Regions from separate parts of the Homo sapiens genome. Here region 2 is linked to region 1. The links are contacts of gene promoters, found by promoter capture Hi-C in blood cells and fetal thymus (Javierre and others, 2016). All regions are on one chromosome and are shown on one strand. The core of a region is centred on a gene start or on the middle of the fragment in contact, and the rest is flanking DNA. Distances in the headings are between cores, read along the strand shown. Region 1 holds the start of SRP68 (signal recognition particle 68). Region 2 overlaps RNF157 (ring finger protein 157).

The links. Contacts are between HindIII fragments. The CHiCAGO score rates a contact against its expected background, and 5 or more counts as called.
Region 2: a contact is called between a fragment that was not itself captured here and the fragment with the promoter of SRP68 in region 1, in 1 of 17 cell types (endothelial precursors). The highest score is 5.0, in endothelial precursors.

What each region holds. Positions count from the first base shown.
Region 1 is chr17:76,067,910-76,074,435 of GRCh38, forward strand. SRP68 (signal recognition particle 68) reads right to left here and starts at 4,608. Exons shown (of 16, transcript NM_014230.4): 1 at 4,399-4,608; 2 at 2,469-2,535. The coding sequence starts at 4,582. It also overlaps a transcript of GALR2 not described here. RefSeq lists enhancers at 3,895-4,722, 4,721-4,770, 4,723-5,550. The HindIII fragment of the contact is 7,541 bases long and covers 3,934-6,526 here.
Region 2 is chr17:76,197,634-76,204,174 of GRCh38, forward strand. All of the region lies in intron 2 of RNF157 (ring finger protein 157), which reads right to left. It also overlaps the pseudogene ATP5MGP6. Among named protein-coding and RNA genes, the nearest start is that of RNF157, 40 kb to the right of the region's middle. The HindIII fragment of the contact is 1,105 bases long and covers 3,867-4,971 here.

The DNA of each region.
Region 1 (6,526 bases), core at 3,358-5,857:
AAAACAAGGCAAATGTCAAGTTGAAAGGACATGGGTAATCATTCTCTTGTTAGCACCTTCAGCTGCAGTGGACTGATGGCGGGGCCTAGAAAGAATGAGGGGCTGGGTGCAGTGGCTCACACCTGTAATCCCAGCACTTTGGGAGGCCGAGGTGGGCGGATCACTTGATGTCAAGAGTTCGAGACCAGCCTGCCCAACATGCAGAAACCCCGTCTCTACTAAAAATACAAAATTAGCCAGTTGTGGTGGCACATGCCTGTAATCCCAGCCTACTCGGGAGGATGAGGCAGGACATTCGCTTAAACTCAGGAGGTGGGGGTTGCGTTGAGCCAAGATTGCGCCATTGCACTTCAGCCTGGGCAACAACAGTAAAACTCCGTCTCGAAAAAAAAAAAAATTAGCCAGGCATGGCGGGCGGGCGCCTATAATTCTAGCTACTCGGGAGGCTGAGGCAGAGAACTGCTTAAACCCGGGAGGTGGAGGTTGCAGTGAGCCGAGAACACGCCATTGCACTCCAGCCTAGGCAACAGAGCAAGACTGTGTCTGAAAAAAAAAAAAAAAAAGAAGAAGAAGAAGAATGAGGAGGATTCTAATAAATGTAAAGAAAGCAGGGAAAGGGGCATCCTGAGGAAGACTAAGATGACACCAAACATATGGAGAAAGAACTGCAGGCAGGTCTGAAGAAAAGTGAGGAAGCCAATTAGGTTATCGCCAAGAAGCACTACAAATGTCACCTCTATGCCAAGCCTCCTCCTCTATGCTCATGTAGCTCTTTATTCTTCCTTCTATTACAGTGTGTGACATTATAATTATGTTCTCACATAGTTGTCCACTAATATAAATCCCTTTAGTGCAGGGAGAATTATTTTTTTGAGACAGAGTCTCACTATGTTGCTGTTGCCCAGGCTGGGCTCGAACTCCGGGGCTTAAGCAATTCTCGGGCCTCATCCTCCCAAGTAACTGGCACTATGGCATGTGCCACCATTCCAGCTAGGATTTCATTTTTAAATTTTCCACAATGCCTTACCACAGTGTCTAATATGCAGATGTTCAATACATACATTTTGACTAAATTAGTTTAAAATATATATATAAATAAATAAATATATATATATATAAAATTGCACCAACCTTTAAGTCAAAGTAATACAGCACATAATTTACAATACAAAATGATATTTCAATACTACTTCAGGGGCCGGGCGTGGTGGTTCACGCCTGTAATCCTAGCACTTTGGGAGGCTGAGGCAGGCAGATCACTTGAGGTCAGGAGTTCGAGACCAGCCTGGGCAACATGGTGAAACCCCATCTCTACTAAAAATACAAAAATTAGCCAGGCATGGTGGTGCATGCCTGTAGTCCCAGGTACTCGGGAGGCTGAGGCAGGAGAACTGCTTGAACCCGGAAGGCGGAGGTTGCAGTACACCGAGATCGTGCCACTGCATTCCAGACTGGGTGACAGACAAAGACTCTGTCTCAAAAAAATAAGTAAATAAATAAAATGAAATAAAAATAAATAAATAGGCCAGGCACATTGGCTCACACCCGTAATCCCAGTACTTTGGGAGGCTGAGGCAGGTGGATCACCTGAGGTCAGGAGTTCAAGACCAGCCTGGCCAACATGGTGAAATCTTGTCTCTACTAAAAATTAGCCGGGCATGGTGGCATGTGCCTTCAGTCCCAGCCACTCAGGAGGCTGAGGCAGAAGAATCACTTGAACCCGGGAGGCGGAGGTTGCAGTGAGCCGAGATCGCGCCACTATACTCCAGCCTGGGCAACAGAGTGAGACTCCGTATCAAAAATAAATAAAATAAATACTACTTCAGCATCTCAATCAAAGCTACCAGGGTATAGATTATTTAAAAGAAAAAAAAAAAAAGAAATAGGCCAGACACGGTGGCTCACGCCTGTAATTCCAACACTTTGGGAAGCTGAGGTGGGTGGATCACCTGAGGTCAGGAGTTTGAGACCAGCCTGGCCAACATGGCGAAACCCCATCTCTACTAAAAATACAAAAATTAGCCAGGCATGGTGGCACATGCCTATAATCCCAGGTACTCTGGAGGCAGAAGCAGGAGAATCACCTGAACCCGGGAGGCATGGGCTGCAGTGAGCCAGGATTGCGCCACTACACTCCAGCCTGGGTGACAGAGTGAGACTCCATCTCAAAAAACAAACAAACAAACAAACAAAAAAAACAGCTACTCAGGAGGCTGAGGCAGGAGAATCGCTGGAACCCAGGAGGTGGAGGTTGCAGTGAGCCAACATTGCGCCACTGCACTCCAGCCTGGCGACAGAGCGAGACTCCATCTCAAAAAAAAAAAAAAAAACAAAGCAAACAAACAAACAAAAAAAACAATGCTCTAGACTTTCTAGCATATTTGCTGATATAGCAGAGTAAACAGGATATTAACAAAAGCAAAGCAAGTCCCACAATGATTTCCAAACATCTTGTATGTGATACTAACCTGTACCTCTGAAAATCTCCATGCCGTAAACCATGCTGCTGCTGGGATTCCTTAATAATCTGAAGAACTAGAGTCGAGATTAAGGAAAATCTTACCATAGCAAGAATCCAAACAAATCAAAACCTGTACCATCAGTCTATATCTGTGTCAAACCACAACACATTAAACATTTGTGAAATATAGCCAGGTACGGTGGCTCATGCCTGTAATCCCAGCACTGTGGGAGGCCGAGGCGGGTGTATCACCTGAGGTCAGGAGTTCAAGACCAGCCTGGCCAGCATGGTGAAACCCCGTCTCTACTAAAAACACAAAAAATTAGCCGGGCGCAATGGCTAGCACCTGTAATCCCAGCTACTCGGGAGGCTGAGGCAGGAGAATCGCTTGAACTTGGAAGGCAGAGGTTGCAATGAGCCAAGACAGCGCCACTGCACTCCAGCCTAGGTGAGAGTGAGATTCAGTCACACATGCACATGCACACACACACACACACACACACACACACAAATTTGTGAAATATTTAGTACACTGGTGAGATCTTTTGTAACCATTTTCAATATCTATCTTGTCACAGGACAGGGCTAACCTACAGGAAAACTGATTGCCTGAACTGTTACTACTTGCAAACTGAAAAAGGAGGGCACTACTGGCCACTGGAAACTGCCAAAACCCAGTTTAAATTAAGCTGATGGATTCTAAATGCTGACTATAATTGGGGTGCTTCACACCAATTAACACCTAGACCCCACATTTTATTCATTCAGATTCAGGTTATAAATGACATGTACTAAGCCTCCATTTGCATAATCTCCAACACCTGCCAAATCTAACTTTCCTTAACAGCTGTGATGCTTAGAGAGTCTATGATTAGCACATGTCAACCAAGCTAGGCTACAGTTTGCATAAAAGTATTAAGGTTTTTCTTTCAAAAGAAGAATGGCCAGATTCTCCTTTTAATAATCTTAAAATATTTAAGATTATGTACTAATCTTTAGAAAGTCCAATGACCTTCATCTATATAGGTATAGTTTTAATGTTTCCTCAACACTTCTCTAGAGACATATTTTAAAATAGTGAACGCTAAAAGGACTCTTTAAATTACTAAAACGGGACAAAGAGATATAAAGGTCTCAGTAAAATCAGGGCTCGCTAGCGTCTACTTGGAACTATTACCAGTAATTCAAAATATTTAACTCCAAGCGCCTGAGAACTTTAAGCACATTAAGATGTCAAGTTGAATGTGTTATTTCAGAAACTCGCCTACGTTTTCTCCATTTGTTATTCATTTCAAAAGGTCACAAACTAGTACCACAAGCACTTGGTTGAGATACACACTGATGGAAACTAGAAACCGATTCCTCCAGCTTATATGAATGACTGTCAGCAAGATAAAATGCCTACAGACCGATCAGAAAAAAATGACACAATCGATATTAACTACGGTAACTTACAATCAAAATGGGCAACAAGCTTTTCCTGAGTCAATCTTTACCTCCACTTTCAAAGTATCGAGCTGTAGGTTTTACTACTCAGTCTATGACGACTGTCAGACAAGAGTATTAAGCCAAATGTCAAGACTGCAGTTTCCTCTCCCCAGTTCAGTGGCTCAAGGTGCCAAAGCAAGGTGCTCAAGGTGTCACTTGGTCACAAGCCCTCCAACTGGACAACTGCGGGGCACCAGGGGAAACCTGCCTGATATCCCAGTGCCACTGGAAGAAACGGACCTAGCCAGGACGGCGAGGGGGACACGAGGAAAGACTAGTCGAGAGACAGACCCCCCCCGGAATTCTGAGCACCAAAAGGTAAGGGCGAGAGAAACTGCAACCCTCGGCCTCTCCTGCCAGGACTTGTCGGGACCCGCCGCCTCTCCCGCCCCCAGCCCTCCAGTTCGACACGTAATCATTGCGAGTTAGGCCCGATTACTCTAGGATACTCTCCAAACTCAGGCTATCCCCAAATTCTTTGTTTGCCTTCGATCCGGCCGAAGGGCGTTCGTTTTCTTTATTTTCTTCCCCTCCGGCACCACGTCCACCGCCGCTACCGCCGCCGCCACTGCCACCGCCGCCGCCACTGCCGCCGCCGCCGCCGCCGCCTGGGACCTGCTTCTCAGCAGCCATCTTGCCCCTGCGCCGCAGAGCAAGACGGGATAGGGGAGGCGGGACGACCTGGGCGGGTGAGAGCTGGACCTGCCTGGCCGGGCTGATGGGATAGCGGCGGACTCCGCCGCCGTCGGCCCTTGCTGCAGCAGGGCGCCATGTGCTGGAGCGCGCCTGCGCGAGGGATCCTGTCATCCCGGGTCCGGAATTGTGGCTGGCTAGGTGGGGACTTGAGGCCGCAGTGAGACCGTGGCTGCTGAGATCTCAGGGGGCAGTCCCACCTCCCACCCACTAAGGGCGGAGAACCGGAGGTGGACCCCAGGTCCTGCATCCTGGACTGGGGATCTGGTTCACGTCCTGCCCAGCAGAAAGCAGGAGACCAAAGATACTGGATTTCGGGGTGTCTGCATCCCCAGGGACTCAAGAGATGGGGTCCTCCCTACCGGAACGGGACACCCCGTCCGTAAGGGACCCGCCTCTGCCTGCCCTTTCCTCTGAGGCTGGCCGTAAGAACGCCAAGCCGGAGGAAGCGCTGCGCAGTCAGCAGACGGTGTCCTAACGGGGTGACTTTCTCAGACCGCTTGGGGCCGTGGACCACTGCACTTTGGGGCCGTCAGTCCAAAGAGGGAGAAGTGTTGAGACATGGGAAAATATGAATTTTTGCTTTGCACCTTCTAGAGTCTGAGACCTGGGATTCCAATCCCCGCTCCGTCATTAGCGGCAGGGACATGTTGGGCACGTAACTTAATCTCCCTGTAAATCTGTTCCTTCATCTATGAAATGGGGATAACCAATTTAAGTGGTTGTTAGGAAGATTAAATGACGGATTTTTTTTTTTTTTTTAGATAGAGTTTCGCTCTTGTTGCCCAGGCTGGAGTGCAATGGTGTGATCTCGGCTCACTGCAACCTCTGCCTCCTGGGTTCAAGCCATTCTCCTGCCTCAGCCTCCCGAGTAGCTGGGATTACAGGCGCCTGCCACCACGTCCCGCTAATTTTTGTATTTTTAGTGGAGACGGGGTTTCACCATGTTGGTCAGGATGGTCTCGATCTCCTGACCTCGTGATCCGCCCGCCTCGGCCTCCCAAAGTGCTGGGATTACAGGCGTGAACCACCGCGCCCGGCCCTGAACTCTATTTTGAATTTCCTCAAGGTATACGGAATAAGGTCAGGAGAAAAAGAATAAGGATCTGATGCATTCAGATTTAACTAACTCTCCCATACATCTCATTCCTTTCTCAGCAGATCCCTCTTAGAAGGAAGTGTTACCATTTCCTTGTTACAGCTGAGGAAACTGAGGCATGGAGCCAAAGACAGAGCCTGACACAATAGATGCTCAGTATATTGGATTGAATTGGAGGGAAAACGTTCAATGGGTAAGAGAAGGGAAAAAGGTGGCCGGGCTCGGTGGCTTACGCCTGTAATCCCAGCACTTTGGGAGGCCGAGGTGGGCGGATCACTTGAGGTCAGGAGTTTGAGACCAGCTTGGCCAACATGGTGAAACCCCATTTCTACTAAAAATACGAAAATAAGCCAGGCGTGGTGGCAGGCGCCCGTCATCCCAGCTACTCGGGAGGCTGAGGCAGGAGGATCGCTTGAACCCGGGAGGCGGAGGTTGCAGTGAGCCGATATCATGCCACTACACTCCAGCCTGGGCGACAGAGTGAGACTCTGTCTCAACAAATACAAATACAAAAAACTAGCCAGACGTTGTGGCGGACGCCTGTAGTCCCAGCCCCTCAGAAGGCCGAGGCAGGAGAACCGTTTGAACCCGGGAGACGGAGGTTGCAGTGAGCCGAGATCGCGCCACTGCACTCTAGCCTGGGCGAAAGAGCCAGACTCCGGGGCCCCTCATCCGCCTCCGCCCCGCGTTTCCTCCCCCCGATCTCCCAGGGGTCCTCTTTTGAGGGCACCCCAGCCCCTCGACGGTCCCGGGATATCCTGCACCCCTGCCAGGCTGCAGGGAAG
Region 2 (6,541 bases), core at 3,169-5,668, 130 kb after region 1:
AACATAGTTCACTGCAGCCTCAAACTTCTGTCTCAAGCCATCTTCCCACCTCAGCCTCCCGAGTGCTGGGATTACAGATGTGCCACCATGCCAGGCTGCTTTGGCAGCATTTAAAGACAATCATTTCCTGCAGGCACAAGACCTAATTTTAAGAGTGGCAGAATCAAAAAGGATGAACTCTCAGCCTATACTAGTCTACTGTGCCAGATTCAGGCCCTGGTAGGGAAGGAGTGAACTCTAAGACTTGAGATGGGAACGTCTGTGTATATTTATTTGAGGAACATGAACCCCAGATTCCCTAGGCTTGCAAATAGCCCTCTCCCTTGAAGATGGGAGGAACCTGCTCCTCCACCCTTCATGATTACACAGAGGTCTCAAATGAGGCGAGTAACTTAAAAGACAATGCTCACCCTACAGAGGACCTGCCCCCACCTTCCTTTCTGGCCACCCAACCATAATTAGGGCCATTATCTGAGTATTACTCAACCGGGGCCTGCTGGACCTGCAAAGAGAGGAGAGGGCTTATCATGCCAGAGGTGCTTGGGACCTGGCCAACAAAGGCACTAGCAGGACCTGGAGGATGTGTGGGAGGGGTTCCTGAGGGTGTTGGAATACAAAGTTGGATGAGGGAGAGCCTGTTGATACAGGGACATTCTCTTATGACACAGAATGAACACCTTGGCAAGAGCCTTGGATCTGATATGTGCTGGGGGAGGGGGGTTCTTGGGAGCTTGGAAAAATGATGGACCACAGTAATTGATTCCAAAACTGCCACAGAGATCTTTAGAGGAAAAGTTCAAAAGGCTTCGTGTCTACTCCACGAGAATAGGTCTGCACATAAAGTGGGAAAATCCACTAGCTGGCTGCGTCCTTTGGGGGGCCTGAACATACTCTAATTACCACACCCTAGATTCTGCCCCACACTGGTTACCAGCATAGGTTCTGCCGTATACGTCAGTGTCCTCTTCATTCCTTCTGCAGCCTGAGGTCAAACCTCCATCAAATCTCAGTTGGACAACTGGTTACCCTGTATCCGTTCTCATGACTCTCTAATCTACCTTCTACACTTCATCTGAGAGATCTTTTAAAATGTGTCTTCTGTGAGCCCCAGTTTAAAGCCCATTAGTGGTTCCCCACACCTACAGGACAAAAATTCGAAGCTCACAGGGAGGCATACCAGGCCCCTTGGTCCAGGCCTGGCATCTCAGTCTTATCTCTTGCAAAGTCTCCTCCCACCCTCTGGATGCCACACCTGCTTATGCTGAATCACCTGCAGTGCACACACCGTCTGTTGGTGAGATGTCTCTGTGCCTCTGCTCATGGGCCCTCCTCCGACGTGTTCATGTTTCCTAGCTGTACAACTCCTTCAGGCAGGGACTGCATTTCATCGGTATTTCTAGTGTCTAACATCAGCCTGGAGAACAATGGGTATTCCACAGAATGTAAATGATTGAGGGAATAATGAAGGAGTGAGCCAGTTAGTCAGTGATTTGTGTAACAGAGAGGGGAAAGAAGATCAAAGTTGGCAACATGTTATGATCATTTAAGAAAACTATCTTCTCAACTAGTACAGAGACCAGATTAAAACATGAACAAAGAAGAAACTATTCCTTCCTCTACTTTCTCTTCCTCCTTCTCCCAGTGTACTTATATTCCAAATTGGTTTTGGCTGGAGTGCAGTGGCTTGATCACAGCTCACTGTGGCCTCAACCTCACAGGCTCAAGTGATCCTTCCACCTCAGCCTCTTGAGTAGCTGGGACTATAGGCACGCTCCATCATACACAGCTAATTTCCTTTATTTTTTGTAGAGGGTCTCACTATGTTGCCCAGGCTGGTCTTGAACTCCTGGGCTCAAGTGATCCTCCCACTTTGGCCTCCCAAAGTGCTGGGTTTATAGATGTGAGCCACTGTGCCCTGCCAAAAGCAGCTGAAAGTTAAAAAAAAAAAAAAAAAAAAAAGAACAGCTGGCAGGAAGAGCCACATCAATACTAATAGGTATAAACACTGATTCAACTTCTCTGGGAGTGCCCCTTCTTATCACTGGTGATCTCAACGTGAAGTGTGACTGCACTTGGTGACGCAGCTCGCTGGTCTCCATCCTACTGCCACCTGCTCATGCTACTGGGACCCCGTCTCTCTGAAGATCCACCTACCATAGAAATCCAACTCCATAAAACAGAGGGATAATGTCCTCATCTTTATTAAGGATGAAAAGTAATATAAGTTGAATAAAGTGCTTTTTGTAAGAACATAAAAACAAGTTAAATTTCAAAACTGAACCTACAACAAGCCTACATAATTTCATAAAACTAGGCATTTCAGGTCGGGCGCGGTGGCTCACGCCTGTAATCCCAGCACTTTGGGAGGCCGAGGCGGGCGGATCACGAGGTCAGGAGATCGAGACCATCCTGGCTAACATAGTGAAACCCCGTCTCTATTAAAAATACAAAAAAAAAAATTAGCCGGGTGTGGTGGCGGGCGCCTGTAGTCCCAGCCACTCCGGAGGCTGAGGCAGGAGAATGCTGTGAACCTGGGAAGCGGAGCTTGCAGTGAGCCAAGATCGCGCCACTCCATGCCAGCCTGGGCGACAGAGCGGGACTCCGTCTTGTCAAAAAAAAAAACAAAAACAAAAACCAAAAAAAACCGAGGCATTTCTTCCCTAGCCCAATAGCCAAAAGGCAGGAGCAACCCAAGTGTCTGTCTATTGATGGATGAATGGATATACAGTGTATCGATATAATGGCATATTATTCAGCCTTAAAAAGGAAATTCTGACACATGCTACAACATGGATGAACCAAGCACATGCCAAGTGAAATAAGCCAGTCACAAAAGAACAAATATTCTATGATTCAACTCGTATGAGGTACCTAGAGTAGTCAAACTCATAGAGGCAGAAAACAGAATGGTGGAGGCCAGAGGCTGGTAGGAGAGGGAAATGGTGAGTCAGTGTCCAGTGGGGACAGAGTTTCAGTTTTGTGAGATGAAAGGAGTTCTGGAGACTGTACAACGATGTGTGATGAGCAGGGTGGTCACCCCTGGGGAAGGCGTGGAAGTAGGGAGACATGTATTATAAGAATGCCTTAAGTGAAACTCTTTAAAGCCCTAAACCATTTTAAAAGTATGAATATTCATCCTCTAGTTCTTTTACTGTCAGGTTGCTGAAAAGCAGGCCACTTCCATACTGAATCTCATACCATTTCGAATCAACTGTTTCTAAAGGTGAATTACTGCATGTTGGCACCAAGAGGACCGAGCTCCCTGACTCTCCTCCTCCCCATGCTTACTCTGGTTTTCTGTCTTTCTCCGCAAGCCCCCAGACACTTCCTGGCACACATCCCAACCCCAGCGAGCAGACCCTACCTTTCCTGTAGTTCACTAAAAAATTAAAACCATTATTTTGTGAACTCCCTTAATTTTCCTACTTCTAAATATTCTTCTAAACCTATTTCCTTCCTCTACTTAGAAGTATTTCCACCTCTATTTTTAAAGAAAATTAAAATACTTTTCATTTAAAAATGAAAACACGTTCACTGGAAAAAATTCAAACAACATAGAAGAATATGAAGAGCCGGGCACAGTGGCTCACACCTGTAATCCCAGCACTTTGGGAGGCTGAGGCAGGAGGATTGTTTGAGCCCAAGAGTTCAAGACCAGCCTTGGCAACATAGTGAGACCCTAGTCTCTACAAAAAAAAAAAAAAAAAGAGAAAAAGAAAAAATTTTAAATTAGCTGTGCATGGTGTCATGTATCTGTAGTCCCAGCTACCAGGAAGGCTGAGGCAGGAGGACTGCTTGAGCCCAGGAGTTCCAGGTTACAGTGAGCTATGATTGCACCACTGCACTCCAGCTTGGGTGACAGAACAAGCTTATTTCTAAAAAAAAAATAAAGAAAATTTTAGAAAATATGAATTAAGAAGTGAATACCCCCCTTCTTGATATATCCCAAGAGTTACCATTGTTAACAGTTCAAAATGCATTGTAATAGTATATTTGTGTAGCTATAAATATATGTACATAATGCACACACATACATATATTATTTTTATCCGAAATGAAATCAGACTCTACATTATACACTGCAACTTGCTTTATTCAGTAAGTCATGTGGTTGTGGACATATTGCCATCTCAGTGGACGCAGATCTATCTAATTTTTGCTGAATAACAGTTCATGGCATAGGCACATTATAATTTATTTAACCATTCCACTATAATGGCCATTAGATATTTTCTAATTTTGCACTACTACAAGTAATGCTACAATATACATTGTAAATAGGAATCATTTCACACTCTTCAAAATATTTCTGTAGGAGAGATTCGGAGAGGTGAAACAGTTGGGCCAAAGGGTACGCACAGCTCAAAATTTAATCAATATTTCCAGGCTAAAGGACAAAAAAAAATTGTAGTAAAATTATAAAGGAAGGAAGAAGGAAAGAAGATAGCATGCAAAAGGCAAATAACCCAATCTCAGTTTCTCTCTCTCTCTCTCTCACACACACACACACACACACACACACACACACACACACACACGTGCATGAGAAAGACACCCGTTCCCACCATGGGCTTTAGGCCTGTAGGGCAGTTAAGTGCCAGGTCCTTGTGATGTGACCTATTAGGCCAGTTACTCCAAGTCCAAGGCACAAATAAATCTCCAAACATAACACGTGCACAGCATCTGGGGTAAGTGGTGGCCTCTCACAGAGGCTGTTCCTTGGAGTGTCCTTTGCCTCAACTCACACTGCTGCAATTCTCTAATCTGCACTGCATTCATTTTATTTTCTGTTTTTTAGACACATTTTAGTCTGATCACACATGGTCCAAGAACACACAAGTCATAAATCAAATGTAATCAGATGTTAAAGATGGGTCTTCAAAGATTACAGCAATGATGCCACACTTGCCTGTGAGCTCTCTGACATAAAATCACGTCCACACCTCATGTGTGGACCACATCATTCAGCAAAGCTTCCTTAACTGTGAGCTATTAGAGCGCTACTATTTTTTTTTTCAGGCTCTGAATAGTTCTAGGGATCTCACCAGGGGTTGGAGGAAGCAGCTCAGCCTTGGCATAGTACCAAAAAGTGGCCAATCGAGGCTTCAAACAAGTCACAACAATGATCATCAGCCCTGGGGCCTTCTCTGCAAGGTTATAAATTGGTCCATGGTTCTAGGGTAGAAAGTCTGCACCATGTTTATTTGCAATGCTGTTAATCCTATTCAGTTATTTCATGTATTTTTTCTTAAAATAAATTACTTCCTAACTGGTCTTCTTATTTTCTGTCTCTCTGATTCATTACCTATACTGTGAATTAATTTATAGAATTAATTTTCTAAAATGCAAATTAGATTGTAATAGTTATCTTTTTTTTTGAGAGAGGGTCTCGTCCAGCCCAGGCTGGAGTGCAGTGGCATGATCTCCGCTCGCTGCAACCTCCGCCTTCTGGGTTCAAGCGATTCTTATGCCTCAGCCTCCCAAGCGGCTGGGATTACAGGCATGCACCACCATGCCTGGCTAATTTTTGTATTTTTAGTAGAGACAGGGTTTCGCCATGTTGGCCAGGCTGGTCTCAAACTCCTGGCCTCAAGCAATCCACCCACCTCAGTCTCCCAAAATGCTGCGACTACAGGCGTCAGCCATCAGGTCCCGCCATCATTTTTTGAGTCCTTAAAATATTCCTGCAAGGTAATTTTATAGATGGGGAAATTGAGACTCACTGATTGGCCATCGTCTTAACCAACATGACAAAGTCAGTCAGTGGCAAAGCCATTCATGACTATGACCTTTACTGCCATAGAAGGAAAAGTAAAAACTTTTTTTTTTTTTTTTTGAGATGGAGTCTTGCTCTTGTCACCCAGGCTGGAGTGCAATGGCGCAATCTCAGCTCGCTGCAACCTCTGCCTCCTGGGTTTAAGCAATTCTCCTGCCTCAGCTTCCTGAGTAGTTGGGATTACGGGAACCCGCCATCATGCCTGGCTAATTTTTGTATTTTTGTAGAGACGGGGTTTCACCACGCTGGCCAGGCTGGTCTTAAACTCCTGACCTAAGGTGACCTCCCCGCCTCAGCCTCCCAAAGTGCTGGGATTACAAGCATGACCCACCACGCCTGGCCTGTAAAAAGTTTTGTTGCTTTTTTTTTTTTTTTTGGGACGGAGTCTCGCTCTGTCGCCCAGGCTGGAGTGCAGTGGCACGATCTCGGCTCACTGCAAACTCCGCCACCCGGGTTCACGCCATTCTCCTGCCTCAGCCTCCTGAGTAGCTGGGACTACAGGCGCCCGCCACCATGCTCGGCTAATTTTTTGTATTTTTAGTAGAGACGGGGTTTCACTGTGTTAGCCAGGATGGTCTCGATCTCCTGACCTCGTGATCTGCCCTCCTCAGCCTCCCAAAGTGCTGGGATTACAGGCGTGAGCCACCGCGCCCAGCCCATAAAAACTTCTTAATACAATATTCATAGCTCTTCAGATATGAACCCAATTTGTCTTTCCAGCCTCAACTCCAACCAGCATCCCTCACAGTCCAATACTTATTGACT